Regions from separate parts of the Homo sapiens genome. Here regions 1 and 2 are each linked to region 3. The links are contacts of gene promoters, found by promoter capture Hi-C in blood cells and fetal thymus (Javierre and others, 2016). All regions are on one chromosome and are shown on one strand. Each heading gives the region's core, a stretch centred on a gene start or on the middle of the fragment in contact. The rest is flanking DNA. Distances are from core to core; before and after follow the strand shown. Region 1 holds the start of SIRT3 (sirtuin 3). Region 2 overlaps RIC8A (RIC8 guanine nucleotide exchange factor A). Region 3 holds the start of RNH1 (ribonuclease/angiogenin inhibitor 1).

Region 1 (3,917 bases), core at 364-2,863, 270 kb before region 3:
TAACAGTTTTGCAGAGTATCACAGATATTAGAATGCGCTCCACGTGTTTGTAGGTCCTGGTCCCTGCTCCATCCATAGCACCTAGAACAGAGTCTGGCACAGAATAAGAGCTCAGTCAGGGCTTCTTGGATGAACGACTGACTCTTCGGGATCTTTGTTTTTTTTTGAGACGGAGTTTTTGCTCTTTCGCCCGGGCTGGAGTGCAATGGTGCCATCTCGGCTCACTGCAACCTCTGCCTTCCGGGTTCAAGTGATTCTCCTGCCTCCGCCTCCTGAGTAGCTAGGATTACAGGCGCCCGCCACCACGCCCGGCTAATTTTTGTAATTTCAGTAGAAATGGGGTTTCACCATGTTGGCCCAGCTGGTCTCGAACTCCTGACCTCGTTATCCACCCGTCTCATCCTCCCAAAGTGCTGGGATTACAGGCGTGAGCTACCGCGCCCGGCCAACTCTTCAGGATCTATTAAACTTTTTTCTTTTTTTTTTCCCACAGGTAGATAAGAGTCTTGCTCTGTCACCCAGGCTGGAGTGCAGTGGCTCAATCATAGCTCACTGCAGCCTTGAACTCCTGGACTCAAGGGATCCTCTTGCCTTAGTCTCAGGAGTAACTGGGACAACAGGCTTGCGCCACCATGCCCGGCTAATTTTTAAATTTTTGGTAGAGATGGGGGTCTCGTTATGTTGCCCAGGCTGCTCTTGAACTCCTGGCCTCGAGCGATCCCCGTCTCAGCCTCCGAAAGTGCTGGTATTACAAGTGTGAGCTACCACTTCGAGACTCACTTTTCACCAACATTTTCAGCAGTTGTGTCAGACAGCAAGTCAATGTGCCATTATTTACTTAAATATTCATCCATTATAGGGCATCTGATACCTAACAACCATGGACCTTAAGATTTTTTCCTATGTAGCCTCAGTTCTTAGATGCAATTACTATGGAGACGGGTACGATCACATGCCAGTGGGAGTATTAACCGCACAACATTTATGAGGGATCATTAAAGCGTTAAATGCATATACTTTTGGACCTAGCAATCCCAGTACTAGGAATTTATGCAAACAGTGAGGTGCCAACAAGGTTATTCACCACAGCATGATGCACAATAACTAAAGGTTAGAACGTATTTCAATGAGGGAATGGTGAAATAAACGACAAAACCCCCATAAGTGACGTCCACAGATCAGCATAAAGACGGAGGCCCCGGTGTTGGAACGCACGTAAACTCCCAGACATGCCGCAAAGGAAACACGGCAAGGTGAGAAAGAGTGGGCGAGGTGTCGACAACGAACACGCAAGAAGTGCTTGTCCTTGCCCAAAATACCTCGAAAAGAAGAAACTGGGAGCTGCTGCCCTCGGCTGCCTCCGGAATGCCCTGGGCACCTCGGGTCTGGGAGGCCTCTGCAAGGGGCGCGCCGGGTCCAAGGGCTCACCGCGGGCCCCATGGCTGCCTCTCAGCCCCGCACTCACATCGTCCCTGCCGCCAAGCACCAGCCGACAGCCGCAGGCCTGAAACGGCCCCACGCCTCCCCCGGCCTCGACCCGTTCAACTACCCGGCCCCACAGCCGGAGGGCTGCCGCGGCGCGCCAACCCCAGAACGCCATGTTCCGCGCAGTCCAAGGAGTCCTCCGGACTCGCCCCGCCCCCGGCGCCCCGGCCCCGCCTCCGCCTCCCACCCCCGCCCCCGGCGCCCCAGCCCCGCCTCCGCCTACCGCCCCCGCCCCCGGCGCCCCGGTCCCGCCTCCGCGCCCCGCCCCCGCCTCCTTGCCGACGCCTCCGGCGCGCCCAGGTAGACGTAGAGGCGAGTAGAGGAAGTTCCCTAGTCTGGTGTCTCATCTCTCGCCCCGGAGGTCAAACCTGGAGCCAGCATTTCTGTACCCTGCGCTCACACCTTTTTCAACCCGGATGGCGGTGATAGTTAATACTTTCTGAGCGCTTTTACTATGGTCAGGCATTATATTTACACCTAATCCTCGCAAAACACTACTGGGAAGATCCTCATTTGACAGGAGCAATTCCGGGTCACAAAGGCTGACACCACAAAGCTAGTCCGTAGCGGGTTCGACCACAGGCGCCCACACTCTTTGACGCCTCAATGGCACAGCCAAGTGCGCGGGAAGTGGGCTGCAAACGCCGGAGAGTTTTGTCCGGAGCGCAGAGACGCGCTGTAACCGAGCAACCAGCGGGGCCCGCCCCCGGCCTGCTACGGCGCTCCCAGCCTGCCCCGCGCCGCTCGGCGCCGGAAGTGAGTGAGCATTTCCGGCAGCCATCCCCGCGGTGCTGACATCCCGGTTGTTCTTCTGTGCCGGGGGTCTTCCTGCTGTCATGAAGGACGTACCGGGCTTCCTACAGCAGAGCCAGAACTCCGGGCCCGGGCAGCCCGCTGTGTGGCACCGTCTGGAGGAGCTCTACACGAAGAAGTGAGCGCCGAGCAGACGGGCCCTGGGCCCCGGCGATAGAGGGAGACGGAGGGGGCAGGCGGGCGGAGGAGCGGACCCTTGATGGGCTGAGGGCGCCCAGACCCAAGTTGGGGGGAAACGGGGACGTGTAGCGACCGGCTGTGCCGGCAAGGTTTGCTGAGGAACCTTGAGTGGCAGGGTCGAGGAATAAGAGGGATGACAGACCACGAGGGCCAAGAGCTGTAGCCAGGATGTTTCGGTCTGAGATTCACTGCTTCCTTAACGGGGGACTGAGACTGAGGCTTCTGAACTCCTACCTCGGGTCTTACTAAAACGGTTCAGGAGTAGCCTTTGATTTTAGCTCTTGATTCCATCTAACAAGCAAACACACTTTCAGGGCCACCACCCACTTTGGGAAACATGTTGGTGATTCGTGCTTAGCCTTGTCATAGTGTAACTGTATCTACAGTTATCTTTCTCATGGTCTGGAGTTGATAAACCAGAGGCTAGTACAGCTTTGCTGTTTTCCCTATTCATTCTGCAGCTGGTTGCACGGGGTGCAACCACTTCCGCCGTCCCATTGTCTTTACCTTCCATTGTATTTCTCATGGGCTTTCTGCCCCTAGAAAGATCTTAAAGTTTAGGTTTGTTTAGAAACAGGATGAATTGCAGAGCAATTAAATTCTTGCTAAGCACTAACCTCCTTTTAATATGAGTAGAATAAATTGCTGGCATTGGGCTGGAGCTATTCCATAGAAAATACATCTCCTGTAGTAACCTCCCTGTTAACCCTAGCATTTAATATAATACCTTTCACATAGATGTTCCATACATGTTTTGATGATGTTTAGCATTCAGCAGCCTTCTGCTATTAGCAGTTTTTGAGAGCAAATTAATGTTTGGCAAATAATGGTTTGTGTTGGATAGCACTTGGTAATTTTCAAAGCATTTTATCTGCGTTATTAAATATTAGCCTTTGGGTTTTGGATGAAGCGCTATGTCACTGTCCCTGAGGTTTTAAATATTAGCTTATTTAATCCTTTATTCATCCTTTTCACAGAGGAGGAAACTGAAGCTCATTTTAATTGCCTTCCCTGAGATACTCAGCTAATAGGTAGAAGAGCCAGCATCTCAAGTTAGATATGTATGATTCCAAAGTTCTCGTTTCCAGTGAAACCTCACAATAACCCTTTGAGTTAATCTAGATTAATGTTCTCCATTTCATACCTGGGAAAACTGAGTCTTAGAGAAGTTAAGTGATCTCAAAGTGACATAGCCATTCAATAGCAGAGCCAGGAAAAGAACTCAGGTTTATCACATCTGCTTTAGCATTCTTTCTGCTACACCGTAGAGACTGGTTAGTATGGATTTAGTATCCCTTATCAGAAATGCATTGGGGCGGCCGGGCGCAGTGGCTCATGCCTGTAATCCCTGCTACTCGGGAGGCTGAGGCAGGAGAATCACTTGATCCTGGGAGGCAGAGGTTGCAGTGAGCCGAGATGGCGCCACTGCACTACAGCCT
Region 2 (4,520 bases), core at 1,102-3,601, 300 kb before region 3:
TGCTATGCTGACATCTCTGTCTCTGAGGGGTCCGTCCCAGAGTCCGCAGACATGGATGTTGTACTGGAGTCCCTCAAGTGCCTGTGCAACCTCGTGCTCAGCAGCCCTGTGGCACAGATGCTGGCAGCAGAGGCCCGCCTAGTGGTGAAGCTCACAGAGCGTGTGGGGCTGTACCGTGAGAGGAGCTTCCCCCACGATGTCCAGTTCTTTGACTTGCGGCTCCTCTTCCTGCTAACGGCACTCCGCACCGATGTGCGCCAGCAGCTGTTTCAGGAGCTGAAAGGAGTGCGCCTGCTAACTGACACACTGGAGCTGACGCTGGGGGTGACTCCTGAAGGGAACCCCCCACCCACGCTCCTTCCTTCCCAAGAGACTGAGCGGGCCATGGAGATCCTCAAAGTGCTCTTCAACATCACCCTGGACTCCATCAAGGGGGAGGTGGACGAGGTGAGCACTGACCTTAACCCATGGATGGGTCTCAACTCAGCTCCAACATTTCCTGGACCTGCTTCCTACTGGGTACCTTCAGGTTTCTGGGTGTCAGACATGGAGAGGACAGGACCTCCCAGCCTGTTGGGACAAGGCCAAGGAGATGCCAGTTCTGGGCTGGGACCTCAGGAAAGGCTTCTGAGGGAAGTAGAGGCCCCTTCTGGCTCTTGCTGCCTGGCAGGAGGGCTGTGTGGTGTCTGGGGAGACTGTAAGAGATCCTCCACCATGAGGCTGTGAGTGGGGCTGAGACAGAGTGTGACTTCATCCCTAAGGTATGTGTTAGCATTCCTAATCAGGGAAGTGCTCTTAGAAGAATACTCATGGAGTTTTTAGGAAGACAGCAGTGGTCATCTTTTGCCCCCAGCACTACCCAGAGTCACCTAGGAAGACCCCAGGGGACCAGGTATGCAGTACAGGAGGTGCACAGTCATTGCCACACAGTCCTGGAGTGCAACAGACAGTGGAGCCTCAGCAGGCAGCAGTGGGATGAGTGGGGCTCCTCACAGGAACCCTTCTTTCTTTGGTCAGGAAGACGCTGCCCTTTACCGACACCTGGGGACCCTTCTCCGGCACTGTGTGATGATCGCTACTGCTGGAGACCGCACAGAGGAGTTCCACGGGTGAGAATGGGGCTTTTTCTGGGAGGGAAGTGTGCCCACATGTCTAGATGGTCGTCCTCAACCCCGGCTCTGAACCAGAACCACCTGAGAGCCCAGGCCCCACCCTAGAGAGTCTGACGTTGTCTGGGTGAGTGAGACTGGACATAGCCATGAATTTGGGGGCAGGAATGTGCCAACTGGGCCTTGGGTAGTGGCAACAGTATGGTACTTACTAGGGCACATTGGTTCCTTGTCCCCGTTTTTGGTCTACCTGCCCCTAGGCTGGTCTGGGTTTCCAGAGATGGTCTGGCGCTTTGGCTCAGACAGGGTCGGGGAGGCAGTGTGTCTCAGTGCCCCCACTTCCCCAGGGGACCCCACTGTACAGCTGAGTGGCAGTGCCTCTCAGATCAGTCCCTGCCCTTGGCTTTGGTCCCTAGCGCTGCCCCTTTGGGACTCAGATGCCAGCTCATGTAATGTGTGGTTCAGCGGAGTCACAAAGATTGCACCTGTGCTCAGGGATTAGCCCTGTTGAAACCCCTACCTCCATCTGTCCCCAGCCACGCAGTGAACCTCCTGGGGAACTTGCCCCTCAAGTGTCTGGATGTTCTCCTCACCCTGGAGCCACATGGAGACTCCACGGAGTTCATGGGAGTGAATATGGATGTGATTCGTGCCCTCCTCATCTTCCTAGAGAAGCGTTTGCACAAGGTAGGCTGGGGATGGCTGTGCAGGCTCCCCCAGTGGCTCTGGCACTGGTTCTCCTGCACAGATGTGGTCAGTGCTTCCACACTGTCCACACTGGTACGTGGAGATTGTCTTGGTGGTGTGATATGGGCGACTCTTCCGGTTGTTCTGTGGTCCAGCCTGGCAAGAAGCCAGACCCTTCCTCCATGAGAAGCATGTGGACACCTTCCACACACTTGAAGGTTTCACTTCTTAAATCTTTGGGGATCTTTACTGAGTGGTCCAGAGAAGCCCCCCAGTCCCTACTTTTAAGTCTTAAACACAGGCAGCCCTTGATTACAAGCATAGTTGTCCCTCAGCATCCTGAGGAGACCCATAGGAACCTCAGATCAAAGCTTCCTTCTGATTGCTGTGACTGCACTACAGGGCATCTGGACAGCTGGGGCTCTAACCATCTTCCAGGAGCTTGCAGAAAGCAGGCTGGAGTACAATAAACCGAGATTTAGTAGACCTCCTGGGAATCTACCTGCCTAAGCAAGGGACACACAAGGTGCCTGCGAGCCAGTCAGGATAGGGAGCTGGCACTGGACACACAGCTAGGGGGTTGTCTGTGCCCGTCGCTGCCACTGCTGGTGCTGGGGTCCAGGCACATTATGCTAGGAGGGTCAAGAACTCCCTGCTCTGTCCACGAAGTACACAGAGCGGGGATTCGGTTCTCGTTTCTTTTTGCCACCAACATCTGAGGGCAATGTGTGTGCGAGTCTAAAGCTTTAATTGCTTTGTGTTTTCTTCCCAGCTCTGGTTTATAGTTGAAGTAATTAGACTTAAAGCAGTTATTTCTCCCAAGTCACAAAGCTTACGAGTACCTCTGAGTTACGCTCTATCCCTGTCCTTTTCAAAAGTGACACAGACACCCACCACCCACTCTTGGCCTTCTGCTGACTAACTGCAGAGGGGCCTCTTCCCAAACCTCTGCCGCCAGGACCAGCTGTTGTGTATGTTGGTGGGAAGGGGTGGTGGGGAGGTGTAACTCTGTGCCAGTCACAAGTTAGGCAGGGGCATAGCCCCAGTGACAGAGAATCCTCTACAGACACACAGGCTGAAGGAGAGTGTAGCTCCCGTGCTGAGCGTGCTGACTGAATGTGCCCGGATGCACCGCCCAGCCAGGAAGTTCCTGAAGGCCCAGGTATAAGGCTGAGGAGCTGGTGCTCCTGGGGGATGTGGTTTCGGCCCTGATCACAGACCCTTGGCTGCTCTAAGCCCAAGCTTAGGGATGGCCACCTCCCCAGGTGCTGCCCCCTCTGCGGGATGTGAGGACACGGCCTGAGGTTGGGGAGATGCTGCGGAACAAGCTTGTCCGCCTCATGACACACCTGGACACAGATGTGAAGAGGGTGGCTGCCGAGTTCTTGTTTGTCCTGTGCTCTGAGAGTGGTGAGTTATGGAGACCCAGGTCCCAGCCCACCCCACCTCAGCCAGGCTTGCACACTGACCTCTGCCTTGCCCCTCAGTGCCCCGATTCATCAAGTACACAGGCTATGGGAATGCTGCTGGCCTTCTGGCTGCCAGGGGCCTCATGGCAGGAGGCCGGCCCGAGGGCCAGTACTCAGAGGATGAGGACACAGACACAGATGAGTACAAGGAAGCCAAAGCCAGGTGTGTACCCCCAACACACCCTCGGGTCTCCACTCACAGCCCCATAGTCCCTGCTTCCACACCCATGTGGACCCCTGTAGGGTGGGACAGGATGACAAATGGGCAAGAGCTTCCAGAATCAAGCACCTGTTCCTAAGTGCTATCTGGGATACCAGAAGGTGGCAGATGGCAGGAGCTGGTTACCTGTGCCGCTTCTGGAGGGAGGCCTCTTCCTGCAGTTGCCTTGCCCACCTCACCCCACTGGGAAAATAGGTGGCTTGCCTCCTGTCCTGGAGAGTCACTAATGCATTCCCCACATTCCACCCACTGGGAAACAGCATAAACCCTGTGACCGGGAGGGTGGAGGAGAAGCCGCCTAACCCTATGGAGGGCATGACAGAGGAGCAGAAGGAGCACGAGGCCATGAAGCTGGTGACCATGTTTGACAAGCTCTCCAGGTGTGTGGCATGAGGAGGAGGGGCCTGCAGCTGGGAGAAGGGAGAGCTGACCCACATCCTGTCTTGTGAGCCCCAGGAGGTAGGATCAGAGGAGAGCTTAGGATCCTGGTATTAGGTTGCATTGCTCACGTTTGAAATCACTTGCCCTGGAGGAAATCCCCCAGGGGATGGGTATATTGAGATCAGTATTGTGCCCCTTTTACAGATGATAACTGAGGCCCAGAGAAATTAAGAGACTGTCTAAGGCCGGGCGTGGTAGCTCACGCCTATAATCCCAGCACTTTGGGAGACTGAGGCAGGTAGATCACAAGGTCAGGAGATCGAGACCATCCTGGCCAACATGGTGAAACCCCATCTCTGCTAAAATACAAAAAAAAAGTTAGCTGGGCGTGGTGGTGGGCGCCTGTAGTCCCAGCTGCTCGGGAGGTTGAGGCAGGGGAATCACTTGAACCCAGGAGGCAGAGCTTGCAGTGAGCTGACATTGTGCCACCGCACTCCAGCCTGGCAACAGAGTGAGACTTCGTCTCAAAAAAAAAAAAGAGACTAATGTCGCCAGATTTATTGGAGATGGCCCAGTGTCCAAATTAAGAGCCTGCTTAAGGCCAATTTAGATGTTTAAAATAGGAAACTGCTTAAAGCCAGGAGGCAGCAGTTA
Region 3 (3,882 bases), core at 712-3,211:
GAAAGATGTCCACCTCCTAATCTCCAAACCTGTGGTGTTACCTTAAGTGGCAAAAGGGACTTTGCAAATATTAAGAATATTGAGATGTGAAGGCTACCCTGGGGTGTCTGGGCGGCCGGCATATAATCATGAGAGTTCTTATGCAGAGACAGTAGGTTTTGAAGATGGAAGAAGGTGGCCTCTAGAAGTTGGAAGAGGAAAAGAAGCAGATTCTCCTTGGGAAACTCCAGAAGGAACTACCCTTGCCAACACCTTGATTTTAACCTCCTAAAACTCACTTCGGGCTTCTGAGCTCCAGGCCTATAAAACAGCCTGTGACAAATTCGTTATAGCAGGGATGAGAAAATAGCTCACTGCAGCCTCCTCTTCCAGGGCTCAAGTGCTCCTCCTCCCTCAGCGTCCCAAGTAGCTGGGACTACAAGCGTTCACTACCGCAACTGGCTAATTTTTTCTATCTTTTGTAGAGACGGGGGTCTCACTATTTTGGCCAAACTCAGTATGTTGGTCGCAAACTCCTGGGCTCAAGAGATCCGCCCGCCTCGGCCTCCCAAAGTGCTGGGATTACAGGCTGCAGCGCACCCAGCCTAATGTAACTTTTTTTTTTTTTTTTTTTTTTTGAGAAGGAGTTTCGCTCTTGTCAGCCGGCTGGAGTGCAGTGGCACGATCTCGGCTCACCGCAACCTCCGCCTCCTGAGTTCAAGCCATTCTCCTACCTCAACCTCCCAAGTAGCTGGGATTATAGGCGCCTGCCACCACGCCCGGCTAATTTTGTATTTTTAGTAGAGACGGGTTTTCACCATGTTGGCCAGGCTGTTCTCGAACTCCTGACCTCAGGTGATCCGCCTGCCTCTGACTGCCCGGCCCAGTGTAACTGTTAACGGCAACATCGTGTGCAGTCTCCGGCTTGCATTCGGTTTAGTCAGCCAATCGCTAAGACGACACTTGAGACCGTTTTCAGATCTTTAGGCTTTCCACCATCCTAGAAGGGGGCCTGCCTGGTTCTAAGGCCCTTCTGAAACACTGCCAAACTGTCCTCGGGAAACGGTGCAGAAGTCCTCTGGTTTCCCCCAAGGCGCGTGGGCACCTTGGCTGGAACCTCGCCCAGTAACACGACGTGCCTGGGGCCCCTTCGTCATTTCCGCCAACCCCGGTGACAACCCTGACACCGGCCCCTAAGTGCCATTCCAGTTATGTTGCTCTCCTCCCCGCAGCCCCAGGCGGCAGCTTCGCGGCCCGGCGTCCGGTCCCCCGGTGGTCCCGGAGCGAAGCTCCGCAATGGAGAGCGGAGGACCCTCCCTCCCCGACCTCGCACGACCAAGACCGCCCACCTTTCCCCCAACGCCCGGCTGTGGGAGCCGTTCGAGTCTTCTCCGCCAGGGCGCTCCTTCCCGGGAGGCCGCTTCTTTGGGGGAATAAGGTCAAGGATTACGGGATTTGGGGAAGCAAGCTCGGCTGGGCCAGGATTGCTTGCGTAGCTCGCTGGAATCTAAGGCACTAGAGGGCTTGACGGCCACGTGAGGACGAACCACGCAGGCGCAGCCCCGCGCCCCGGGCAAGGACTTCCGGCAAGCCCCAAAGGGGAGCGTGCACCGCGATGACGTCCTCAAGGCGCGCCACGTCCGCCCGGCGGCGCAGCTGCCCAGCGCAACCTCGGCCCCGCCTCGATAGCCCCGGACCCCTGCCCCGCCCGACCCCGCCCCGCCACGGGAGCGCGCCACTCGCCCGCGCAGCAACGGCCTCAATAGCGCCAGGCCCGCGTCTACAAGAAGCCCGACCAAGGCCGGCGTGGGCGAGGCCTGGCTAGACGCTGACGCACCGCTGGAGCTACTGACCTCGGGACGACTGGCGGACGGTCGCGGGCCTGGAGACCCAGAGCGAGACGGCCTACTTCGTTCTCGAGCCAGCAGAACGGGTTGAACGTGTCGACAACCCCACCCGCCAGTCAGCGGCGCGGGCGTGTTCGAGCCGGCTCGTGGGCGTGGTCAGGTGCGTGGGCGGGGACTACTGGGCGGGGCTCGGCGCGGGGGCGGGGCCTGGCGGGAGTAGTCTCGGGGTCGGGGCGGGGCCCGGCGGGCGGGGCTCGGCTAAGCACAGTCTTGGCGCAGCGGCGGGGCCTGGTGGGGCGTGGCTCGGTGAGGGAGGTCTCGCTTGGGGGCGTGGTCTCCCCCAGTAGGCGGGGCTTGGTGCCGGGGGCGGGGTCTGGCGGGCGCGGGCGCGTGTGCGTGTTGTGGGCCTCGCACTGGCACGCAAGTCTCAGCAATTCCTGAGAATCCTCGGAGGAAGAGGCCGGGGCCCGGTGCGGCAGCGCCTTGGGGGCGGAATCGCAGGCGCGGGTCGGGCCTTGCTGGGGCGCGGGGCGCGGCCCCCGGAGAAAGCGGCCGCCTCGGGACAGGAGGGACCCGGGAGAAACCCCCCTGGGGCGGCTCCGCATGTCGGGGTCGCGACTCTAGGCGACCTTGGTAGAGGGGCTCGTTTGCGCCGAGCTCGCGACCCCCGAGGGAGCCACGGCCCCGTGAACCACGCTGCCCGTCCTGGCCACTGGCTGCCGCCTTTGTTTCGTGGGACCCCAGCCCGCAAGGCCTGCGGAGCCGCGGCCTCGTCCCGAGTGTTCTGAGCGCGGTCCGAGCTGCTCCTGCGTCCACTCTGCTGCCGACACCCGAGCGTCGCCTGGAGCCCTGGCACTGAGGGGCGCAGGCCGAGTTCCAGACCAGCCTGGGAAACGCAAAGCGACCCCACCTCCACAAAAGTGGGTTTTCTTTAAGTTTTTGACTAGTCCGCAATTCACAGAATTGACATTTTGGCAGATGAAGATTGCAAGTAAGGAAACTAACGGTATCTCAGATTTGTTCTTTAGCAATTTGCTAAACCTCTCCTCTGACTGCCTTTATTAGGTATTTGTTTTCGAGACAGGGTCTCACTCCACTGCTTAGGCTGTACTGCAGTGGCGCGATCCCAGCTCGCTGCAGCCTCCACCTCCCGGACTCCAGTGATCCTCCCGCCTCAGCCTCCCAAGTAGCTGGTACCACAGGCGCCAGCACGCCTGGCTAATTGTTGTATTTTATGTAGAGAAGAGGTCTCCCTGTGTTGCCCAGCCTGGTCTTGAATTGGGCTCAAGTGATCCTCCTGCTTCAGCCTCCCATATCGCTGGAATTACTGGCATAAGCCACTACACCCGGCCTGATCATCTTTAAAGAAGGTGGTTCTGGCCGGGCGTGGTGGCTCACACCTGTAACCCCAACACTTTGGGAGACCGAGAAGGGTGGATCACCTGAGGTCAGGAGTTCAAGACCAGCCTGGCCAACGTGGTGAAACCCCATCTCTACTAAAAATACAAAAATTAGCCAGGCATGGTGGTGGGCACCTGTAATTCCAGCTACTTGGGAGGCTGAGGCAGGAGAATCGCTTGAACACGGGAAGCAGAGGTTGCAGCGAGCCTAGACCACACCATTGCACTCCAGTTCGGGCAACAAGATGAAACTCTGGCTGGGCGCGGTGGCTCACACCTGTAATTCCAACACTTTGGGAGGCCAAGGCAGGCAGATCACCTGAGGTCAGGAGTTCAAGACCAGCCTGGCCAAGATGATGAAACCCCATCTCTACTAAAATTACAAAAACTTAGCCAGGCATGGTGGTGCATGCCTGTAATCCCAGCTACTCAGGAGGCTGAGGCAGGAGAACCACTTGAACCCAGGAGGCAGAGGTTGCAGTGAGCCAAGATCGTGCCACTGTACTCCAGCCTGGGCAACAAGAGCGAAACTCCATCTCAAAAAAGAAAAAAGAAACTCCGTCTCAAAAAGAAGGTGGTTCACACACACACACACACACCCCCAAGAAAGCTCAGGGCTGGAAGGCAGCCAACCTGGCTGTGACCCTCATCCTGCA

Evidence for each region. The method cuts DNA at HindIII sites, captures the fragments that hold promoters and counts their contacts. A CHiCAGO score of 5 or more calls a contact.
Region 1: the fragment with the promoter of SIRT3 here is called in contact with the fragment with the promoter of RNH1 in region 3 in 6 of 17 cell types (fetal thymus, non-activated CD4 T cells, naive CD4 T cells and 3 more); the score reaches 8.9 in fetal thymus.
Region 2: a fragment that was not itself captured here is called in contact with the fragment with the promoter of RNH1 in region 3 in 1 of 17 cell types (fetal thymus); the score reaches 6.8 in fetal thymus.

The regions. Positions count from the first base shown.
Region 1 is chr11:234,729-238,645 of GRCh38, forward strand. It overlaps SIRT3 (sirtuin 3), which reads right to left and starts at 1,614. Exons shown (of 7, transcript NM_012239.6): 1 at 1,320-1,614. The coding sequence starts at 1,600. It overlaps PSMD13 (proteasome 26S subunit, non-ATPase 13), which reads left to right and starts at 2,248. Exons shown (of 13, transcript NM_002817.4): 1 at 2,248-2,416. The coding sequence starts at 2,322. RefSeq lists a silencer at 1,680-1,759 and enhancers at 1,910-2,099, 2,260-2,499. The HindIII fragment of the contact is 9,250 bases long and covers 1-3,917 here.
Region 2 is chr11:209,554-214,073 of GRCh38, forward strand. It overlaps RIC8A (RIC8 guanine nucleotide exchange factor A), which reads left to right. Exons shown (of 10, transcript NM_001286134.2): 3 at 1-447; 4 at 1,018-1,109; 5 at 1,646-1,796; 6 at 2,863-2,958; 7 at 3,062-3,206; 8 at 3,284-3,428; 9 at 3,746-3,865. Among named protein-coding and RNA genes, the nearest start is that of MIR6743, 2.5 kb to the left of the region's middle. RefSeq lists an enhancer at 1-23. The HindIII fragment of the contact is 373 bases long and covers 2,166-2,538 here.
Region 3 is chr11:505,281-509,162 of GRCh38, forward strand. It overlaps RNH1 (ribonuclease/angiogenin inhibitor 1), which reads right to left and starts at 1,962. Exons shown (of 11, transcript NM_203387.3): 1 at 1,833-1,962. It also overlaps a transcript of LRRC56 not described here. RefSeq lists an enhancer at 1,231-1,400 and a cis regulatory region at 1,316. The HindIII fragment of the contact is 5,455 bases long and covers 1-3,882 here.